Regions from separate parts of the Homo sapiens genome. Here regions 2 and 3 are each linked to region 1. The links are contacts of gene promoters, found by promoter capture Hi-C in human tissues and cell types (Jung and others, 2019). All regions are on one chromosome and are shown on one strand. The core of a region is centred on a gene start or on the middle of the fragment in contact, and the rest is flanking DNA. Distances in the headings are between cores, read along the strand shown. Region 1 holds the start of PSMA8 (proteasome 20S subunit alpha 8). Region 2 has its middle 170 kb from the start of SS18. Region 3 has its middle 110 kb from the start of SS18.

The links. Contacts are between HindIII fragments. The study calls those that stand out against the background at their distance.
Region 2: a fragment that was not itself captured here is called in contact with the fragment with the promoter of PSMA8 in region 1 in 3 of the 25 tissues and cell types used here (IMR-90 fibroblasts, hippocampus and pancreas).
Region 3: a fragment that was not itself captured here is called in contact with the fragment with the promoter of PSMA8 in region 1 in 2 of the 25 tissues and cell types used here (hippocampus and spleen).

What each region holds. Positions count from the first base shown.
Region 1 is chr18:26,132,370-26,135,356 of GRCh38, reverse strand. PSMA8 (proteasome 20S subunit alpha 8) reads right to left here and starts at 1,488. Exons shown (of 7, transcript NM_001025096.2): 1 at 1,290-1,488. The coding sequence starts at 1,391. The HindIII fragment of the contact is 10,391 bases long and covers 1-2,987 here.
Region 2 is chr18:25,916,560-25,919,546 of GRCh38, reverse strand. No RefSeq gene overlaps it. Among named protein-coding and RNA genes, the nearest start is that of SS18, 170 kb to the left of the region's middle. The HindIII fragment of the contact is 3,722 bases long and covers 1-2,987 here.
Region 3 is chr18:25,976,696-25,979,682 of GRCh38, reverse strand. No RefSeq gene overlaps it. Among named protein-coding and RNA genes, the nearest start is that of SS18, 110 kb to the left of the region's middle. The HindIII fragment of the contact is 4,033 bases long and covers 1-2,987 here.

The DNA.
Region 1 (2,987 bases), core at 239-2,738:
TGTATTCTCATAGCTACTGTCTCAATTTCCAAAGTACACAACAAACATGCTCATGAAATTGAGAGAATAAAAATATCCGATCCTTTGAATTCATAGGCTAGGCCTTAGAAGATTTGGGGTAATAGATCTTGTGTCACTAGGGCACTTTTGTCCTCTTTAATTTTTATAAATCACTAAAATTATTGAACGTAGTTAAAACTTGGCAGCAGTATTACTCCTACCCTGAGTATTTTTTAAGTTTTTCAGTAATGTGGATACATAAATCTAAGGTAGGGTGTAATCTCTCAAGGAACTTCCAGCATTATTTTTTAAGTGGCCAAAAAAGTGGAAGTTCTTGGACTTTTGAGCCTCTACAAGGCTGGGAAATATTGGGACAATTTTGGGATTTTTTTTTTTTTTCCCGAGACGGAGTTTCGCTTTTGTTGCCCAGGCTGGAGTGCAATGGCACGATCTCGGCTCACCGCAACCTCTGCCTCCCAGGTTCAAGCGATTCTCCCGCCTCAGCCTCCCGAGTAGCTGGGATTACAGGCATGCGCCACCACGCCTGGCTAATTTTGTATTTTTAGTAGAGACGGAGTTTCTCCATGTTGGTCAGGCTGGTCTCAAACTCCCGACCTCAGGTGATCCGCCCTCCTGGGCCTTCCAAAGTGCTGGGATTACAGGTGTGAGCCACTGCGCCCAGCAATTTTGGGATATTTTTAACGCGTGTGTTTGAACTGTGTTTTTAATCATTTCTTCATCAACAAAAGTTTAATTTTATATTGATTTAGTCCGTATTTGGGGAGCAGGTGTGGCCAACTTTTATTTTTTATTGTAACTGTTATTAAAAAACAGTTCCCAACATGAAGCAACTGTTAACTTTTCCAGGGGTCTCTGAACTACCAAGGAACTGGACCACGAGCGTTCAATAGGTAGGCTGTTACAGATTAGAAGCTTTCCCTATTGTCAATCACATCATTAACGTCCCTACACACACACACACACACACAGAGACACACACACACACACACACACACCCACACACACACCCTAGTTTTGCGTCTGTAGCTACCATGAAACAGAGGCAGTTGAACAGCAGAGATAGGGGAAATCTACTAACTTTTACTCTGCCCACTTCCGGCCCAAATCTAGAAGTCTGTCTCCCTAAATAAAAAGAACAAAGTAATTTTCACAAGTGTGGGAATCTCCTCTCTTGAGCTCCTAGGATGGAAAGGTGGGCTGGGGCAGCAGGGTAACGATGGCCTGACAGGTCAGAGCGGGGAATAGTCCGGTAATAGTTGCTTCCTCACCGCGGTGGATCCTTTCTTCACCGCTTCCTGGGCATATTCAACTTGAAAAAGGTGTCCGTCTGGGGAGAAGACAGTGATCGCCCTGTCATATCGAGACGCCATCGCACAGGACTACAAGGGCTTGCCACCGAGCTTCCCGCTGCTGCAGCTGAGGCAAGCGGGGAGCCGCCGCCAACACAGCGTGCTACCGCCCGGAAGCGCTTCCACACGCGCCTCAAGCTGCCTCCCGGAAGTCCCCGCGCCCGCGCTTCGGCTGCTTCACGGAAGTCCTTGCTCCTTTGGCTGCCTGCGGATGTCCTCGCGCTTGCCAGCCTTTGTCACCCAAGCAGTGCCTGTGAGTTGACGGCATTCTTCCCTTACCCTTCATGTCTGACGCATAGCGCATATCTCCATTTCCCCACTACCGTGTTGCCCCAGGGATGGTGTCACGGCACTCGAGTTATAAAAATAATATCAAAGATTAGGGCTTAAAAATGAGGTCTTCAAATATCAGATATTTTTGTTATCGCATACATGTTGGAGAAACTGTGGTAAGTTAAATATCAGTCCCTTCCCTTTGGTTTCAAATTCTAAATTTCCTACTTTTTCTTTCTCTCTCTCAGGTTAACTCTTGTTATTTGAACCGAAGGAAAGAAAGCAAACTTCAAAATATTGTTGCTTCTGATATTTTCTGCCTTGTGAGCAAAATAGAGCAGATGAGCAAATGGTCCGTTAAATAAAGCAAATAGTCCATCAAACTAAGCTAATGATGAGAATTAAGATAATGTTCTTTTTTTTGTTTTGTTTTGTTTTTTGTTTTTTGAGACGGAGTCTCGCTCTGTCGCCCAGGCTGGAGTGCAGTGGTGCAATCTCGGCTCACTGCAAGCTCCACCTCCCGGGTTCACGCCATTCTCCTGCCTCAGCCTCCGGAGCAGCTGGGACTACAGGCGCCCGCCACCACGCCCGGCTAATTTTTTATATTTTTAGTAGAGACTGGGTTTCACCGTGTTAGCCAGGATGGTCTTGATCTCCTGACCTCGTGATCCGCCTGCCTCGGCCTCCCAAAGTGCTGGGATTACAGGCGTGAGCCACCGCGCCCGGCCCAGATAATATTCTTTTAATTGGAGAAATTTTGTAAAAGCCCAAAGTATGAGACTTAAAAGATGTCTGGAAATTTAGCTATAGCAGAAACTCTTTACAACTTGCTACATTACTAACTATGAAACAACTCTGTCGCTTTCTCCTTATCAATAAAATGGGAATATTAAAAAATCTGCAGCAGAGTATTCTGAGCTTAATATGTGTTTATGGGCATAATTACATAAAATGGTGCCTGGTGGGCAGTAATAGCCAGGTAAGTTTAGCTATTATTGCTTTCCATGTGTTGTTTAATATATGCAGTTTTCCACTGGGGAGGATCTTAAAGTTGGTGAAATCAACTTTAACCAAAAAAAAGAAAAAAAGAATAATTTCCTCAAAAGAGGAAAAATTTGATTCCCTGAATTCCAAATACTTAAATCAGAATTTTAATTGACTTAAACAATTTATTTAATTATTAATACTTTTTTTTTTAACGTAGGGACTTGGTTTCCCTATGTTGCCCAGGCTGGTCTCAAACTCCTGGTCTCAAGCAATCCTCCTGCCTTGGCATCCGAAAGTACTGCGATTACAGGTGTGAGCCACCACACCTGGCCTTTAGTTGACTCTTGAAGCAGTTTG
Region 2 (2,987 bases), core at 286-2,785, 220 kb after region 1:
TTGAGGCTAAATTAAGGAAATTTGGGCTTATACTTTTTTTGTGGTTTACTGGTAGTCTTCTTTTTCTTAGTGATTTACCAGGGGGCTTTATATTAATATATTAATATGCTAACTTTTTGTCATTTATGCTGCAAACATTTTCTTCTATATGTTGTTTGTAAATCACCTTGCAGTGATCTTTTTTGTTTTAGAGAATTTTTGTGTTGTACAATGTACAGTCTTTGATTTGATCATTTCTGGCTTTTGTATACATTTAAAGAGGCTTCCTTCAAAACTGGAATTATAAAAATAGTTACCTATGTTTTCTTTTATTATTTTCAAGGCTTCATAATAATTTTTAAGTCTGATTTATGTGGAATTTATTTTAGTATAATAAATAAGTTAGGAATTCAAGCTTATTTATTTGGGACATAGCTACCCTATCGTTTTAGTAAAATTTAGTAAAATTGAGTTTTCCTTTCACCACTGCTTTAAAATGCCACCTTAATCGTCTACTAAATTTTTATGTCTGCTTGCCTCACACGATGGCCTGTTAGCTCAATTGGTTAGAGTGTGGTGCCAATATCTCCTTGCCTCTATTTGTGGAGTTTCTATTGGATTAACTCATCTGTTGGTCTATATACCTGTGCCACTAGCTCACTTTAAGAATGACTACAGCTTGGCCGGGCATGGTGGCTCCCGCCTGTAATCCCAGGATTTTGGGAGGCTGAGGCAGGCGGATCACCTGAGGTCAGGAGTTTGAGACCAGCCTGGCCAACAGAGCGAAACCCTGTCTCTAGAAAAAATACAAAAATTAGCTGGGTGTGGTGGCAGGCACCTCTAATCCCACCTACTCGGGAGGCTAAGGCAGGAGAATCCCTTGAACCTGGGAGTTGGAGGGTGCAGTGAGCTGAGATTGCGCCATTGCACTCCAGCCTGGGCAACAGAACGAGAATCCATCTCAGGAAAAAAAAAATGACTACAGCTCTAAGTACATTGTAATAATTGGTAGCACAAGTTCTTACACTTTCCAAGAATGTCTGGCTCTTCTTTCATTTTCGTTCTTTCAGATGGATTTTTAAAACAGTACTATCACCAGCCAGGCATTTGATTTGTTTATTATTTTTTTTTCTGTATTGATGTTTTAAGAAAATAAATTATAAACATAACATAAGCTTGCTATAACAAATTCAAACAATACAAACCAGTGGAAAATAAGCCTCGAACCACCTTCCCAAAACCCCACCCTTAACAGCACATTCCAGCCATCGCTCCTGCCAGCTGTTTGTTTAGGATTCTTTTGGACTTTCTCTTACTCTTAAGCATAAGCACACTTCATGAAGTGCCCCCAAATCCCAGTGATATTTTGACTGGGATTTCTCAATAAATATTTGTAACAAAATATTTTCATTCACATTTCTGGCTTTCAAGTCGTGTAATGCCTGAGACTTTCAGTTTCTTATATGTACACTGTTACAACACTACTTATCTACAACACAGAAATTGCATGAGACAATGCGTGATAATAAAACACGGTTCAAAAATATCTGATCATGGCATTTCTCAAAGTATGTTCTGTAATACATAGATCCTGCAATATACTCTGCAAAGAAAATAAGAGTTCCCTGGGCAAATGAGTTTGGAACATTAGGTGGTATATTTTCTTTTTTGGATATTTGTAATTCAGGGCAACATATTAGAAACCCTTAGTTCTATAAAAAAGGTTTAACTTTGTCTAACCAATGTTTTCCAAACTTGTTTGATCAGGGAAAGTATTTTGCCTATTGACACGATGCTCATAAAACACCATTTGGGAGATGCTGAGTTAGACAGATTGGATCAGCTCTTGGCTGGGGTGGGGTTGTGAAGAACCTAGAATAACTCCCAGGTCTCTGGCTTTAAGTGAATGATTGGTGATGTCACTGACTGAGGTGAAGGATAGAAGTGGAGGATCAATTTTGGACATATTGAGTTTCAATTCCTCTGGCAGGTTTGAATGGAAATGTTTAGTAAGCTGAGAATATATAGGTCTGGGACTCAGGTGACAGGTCATCACTAGAGAAACGTGGGTTAGAAAGTTTGCTTTGGATTAAAGTGTGTTGTCTAAAACAGCTCAGTTAAAAATGCACATATATTACCTAGGAAGGGTAAGCATTAAATTATTAATACATATTATATTATCATATTAGCTTACTATCATTTTAAAGCAGAGATCAGGCCCCTGAAGGAATGGAAATCAGGAATGGTGAATTTTGAGTGGAAGTCGGCCAAGAAAGAGTCTGAAGTTGTGATTTTTACCTTCTGTGGGCCCTTTTTCAATGCTAAAAAAATTTGCCAATCTCCCCACTGCCCTCACATATTAAACTTTTAATATCTTTTGACTGAGAAAATATGTCCTGACTATAACTACTATGACTTAATGTAGTTATAGTCAGGACATATTGTTCTGTACATAGAGGACATGTAAATGTATGGAATAGGTTCACATTTAGCAGGGTGTTTATCCTGCTTCCGGACAGTCAGCGTTGCTGTCCATATGGACTTCTGATCCTCCTGCCACTCCTGTGGTTCTGTTACTGAGACACCAGGGGTTCAGTCTAGGTCCTGCTGCTCACCACCCAGAAAGCCAATGACTGAGATGATCAGTATTGCCAAGGATGAAGGCTTTAATTTGGTGCTGCAGCCAAGGAGATGGGAGATCAGTCTCAAATCCTCTCCTTGACCGACTAAAAGTAGGGTTTCATACAGGAGGGAGGAAATGAAAACAAGAGCTAGGGAGGGGCAAGGAAGGATGATGATGAAGGAGGGGTCCAGCATCTCATTGTCTGGATGCCGTGATCTGGTGAGTTTCAGGTCTTTGATACTTTTTTTTGACAGGCTTGAAGGTCCTTTCCTGAGGAAAAAACAGATACAACAAATGTAAGGTTCAAGCTTTAAGACCAGCAGGGTCAATTTATATGTTTATCCAAAAAACTATCTGTGGGATTATTGGGTCCTTTTCAGTTCCA
Region 3 (2,987 bases), core at 231-2,730, 160 kb after region 1:
GGGGGTGGGGAATAGAAATAACACCTTTTATTTCAGAATCAATTTGAAGGGAGCTGACTTCATACACTGAATAGAGATCTCAGCCCATAATCTTGGGTTCCTGAGCACACAGCACCAGTTTAGCTTCTAATTTACTCTCGGGTGACTTAATGGTATTGCTTAATTATAGCAGTTGCAAATTCCACCCCCCAAAATATATCACAGGCAGCCAAACATCTGCAGGGTTTTGTAATAGGGAGGATGCCAAAATGAAATGCTCATTTTTTGTATTATTTTGCTTTTATTAGTTTTTAATACATATATGTAATAAACAAGATGAGCAAGACAACATTTAAATATGCACCAATGGTAATCAAATGTAAGATATTAAGTTCGAAAAATGCCCATTCTATGGAAAGGAATATGCTCCTCGGGAGAATCGAGGCTGTGGCAGGGGACATTTTAAAATAACATGAACTTCTCAGTGATATAATAGAAACAGGAAGACTCCTCAACATAGCAACTGTAGATCAGAGCCAGAGAAAACCCTCTGCAATGTACCAAATGCCAGCAAAACATTTGTTTTTTTTCTGTGAAGAGGAAGGCCAACTCCTGACTAATTGAAACCCCTCTTTTACCCAATCCTGGATCTTCAAGAAAGGATTAGAAAGGAAAAGTGCTGTCAACAAACTCAGAAAATTAAAAATGAAGTTATCTGTGGTTTGTCTCAAGCTTGTAACTGACAAATAGAAATGAAAATAGTATGTGGTTTTTTGGTTTTTTGTTTATTTTTGAGACAGAGTCTTGCTCTGTTACCCAGGGTGGAGTGCAGTGGCGCGATCTCGGCTCACTGCAAACTCCACCTCCCGGGTTCCAGAGATTCTCCTTCCTCAGCCTCCCCAGTAGCTGGGATTACAGGCCTGCACCATCACGCTGAACTAATTTTTGTGTTTTTGTAGAGACAGGGTTTCACCATGTTGGCCAGGCTGGTCTCAAACTCCTGACCTCGTGATCCACCCACCTCAGCCTCCCAAAGTGCTGGGATTACAGGCATGAGCCACTGAGCCTGGCCTAATGTTTATCTTTAATAAAAGATATTTGCAAGATGAGCATTAAATATAACTATCATTTCCAGAAATTAAATTTATACTTTATGTAGCAAAGTAATGAATAATATAATTTTACATGCAAGAAGACAGTGTTTGAAAAAAATATTTTTGGGGCTGTTTTTTCTATATTTTGTTACCAAAAGATATGCCCCATTATTGACAAAAATATGTATATATTTCTGAATTGTATAGTGTTTTGTTTTGTTTTGAGACAGAGTCTCCCTCTGTTGCCCAGGCTGGAGTACAGTGGTGCAATCTCGGCTCACTGCAACCTCCATGTCCCCGGATCAAGCAATTCTCCTGCCTCAGCCTCCCGAGTAGCTGGGATTACAGGCACACGCCACCATGCCCGGTTAAGTTTTGTATTTTCAGTAGAGAAGATGGGGTTTCACCATGTTGGCCAGGCTGATCTCAAACTCCCGACCTCAAGTGATCCACCCACCTTGGCCTCCCAAAGTGCTGGTCAATTGTATAGTGTTAAAAAGAGAAGAATATTCTTTACCCTAATGCCTTAAAAACACCCTACAAACAAAACTTCAAACTTCACCAATGACTCATCTCTTTTATGCAAAAATATTTGTATAAATTTTTTTGAATGAAAGAAAAGAAGAAGAAAGAAAAGCACAAAATATAAAAAAATAGGCAATTAAAAAAATTGCTTTTGTGTATGCTCAGCAGGGATCTGGTAAAAATTAAACTGAGGCTAATGAAGCTCCAAGCCCCCGCATAACGCCACAGAGGGAGGAAGACTGAATATTGCCTGCTATGAGGCAAACTGCTTAAGGAGCTTTGTGAAAGTCTCACTGAAACCAACTTAGCAAATGCTCCTGTCCCAAAGCCTTTATGATGATCATCTCCAATCAGATAATGTTCCTGCCACCATGGAGCTAGGTGCCACTCCAGTGCATGCGAAGTCACCTCGGTGAGGTGTTAACTTGAAAGTCAAGGGAGACTAGTAAGTGGGTCTTATTAAACAATCCAGGACTCTAGGCTCTCGTTGATCCCCGTGTGGGTGCTAGGCATGTAGATGGTTCATTAGAAGACTCACCCGTTTGCTTTTCTGAGCCCAGTTGTGTATTTTTTGTAAACCCAGGCAGCTTCCAGCAAAACGGAAGTTTTGGTTTCCTGCCTTTTCTGTGGCTTGCAACCATATTCAAGCCTTTCCTGGAGGATTTGCAGAGCCTCCCACCATAGAAATCTCCCAAGTGCTGGCCTTCCTGAGACCAGAGCTCATGCATCATTGTCACCAGATTTATCCCCTGTGTTCTATTCCCTCTAGGTCTTTTCTGGAGACTTGCTTGCTAATTTCAGATAGACCACTGGAAGTGTGGTCCTCAGCCCAGCAGCATCACAACACCTGAGAGCTCGTTAGAAATGCACAAACTGGCCAGGTGTGATGGTTCATGCCTGTAATCCCAGCACTTTGAGAGGCTGAGGTGGGCTCATCACTTGAGGTCAGGAGTCCGAGACCAGCCTGGCCAACATGGCGAAACCCCATCTCTACTAAAAAATACAAAAATCAGCTGGGTGTGGTGGCAGGTGCCTACAATTTCAGCTACTCAGGAGGCTGAGGCACGAGAAGCGCTTGAACCTGGAAGACAGAGGTTGCAGTGTGCCGAGATTGCACCACTGCACTCCAGCCTGGGCGACAGAGTGAGACTCTGTATCAACAACAACAACAACAACAAAACCTCTTGTTACCATAGCCAGTCCTCTTCAGGTTCAGCCACTAGGGGACCCTGTATCCCATCCCAGTAAGGCCAGTCTTGGAGAAAGCCAGGGCAGCCAGCCATGACCAACCACGAACTGAATATACAAAAGGAAGGAGCTGGCTTCAGTACAACCACAGTAATTCCATCCACTGTGGCAAGACACATAAACAGTTGGAAAATGTTAAAG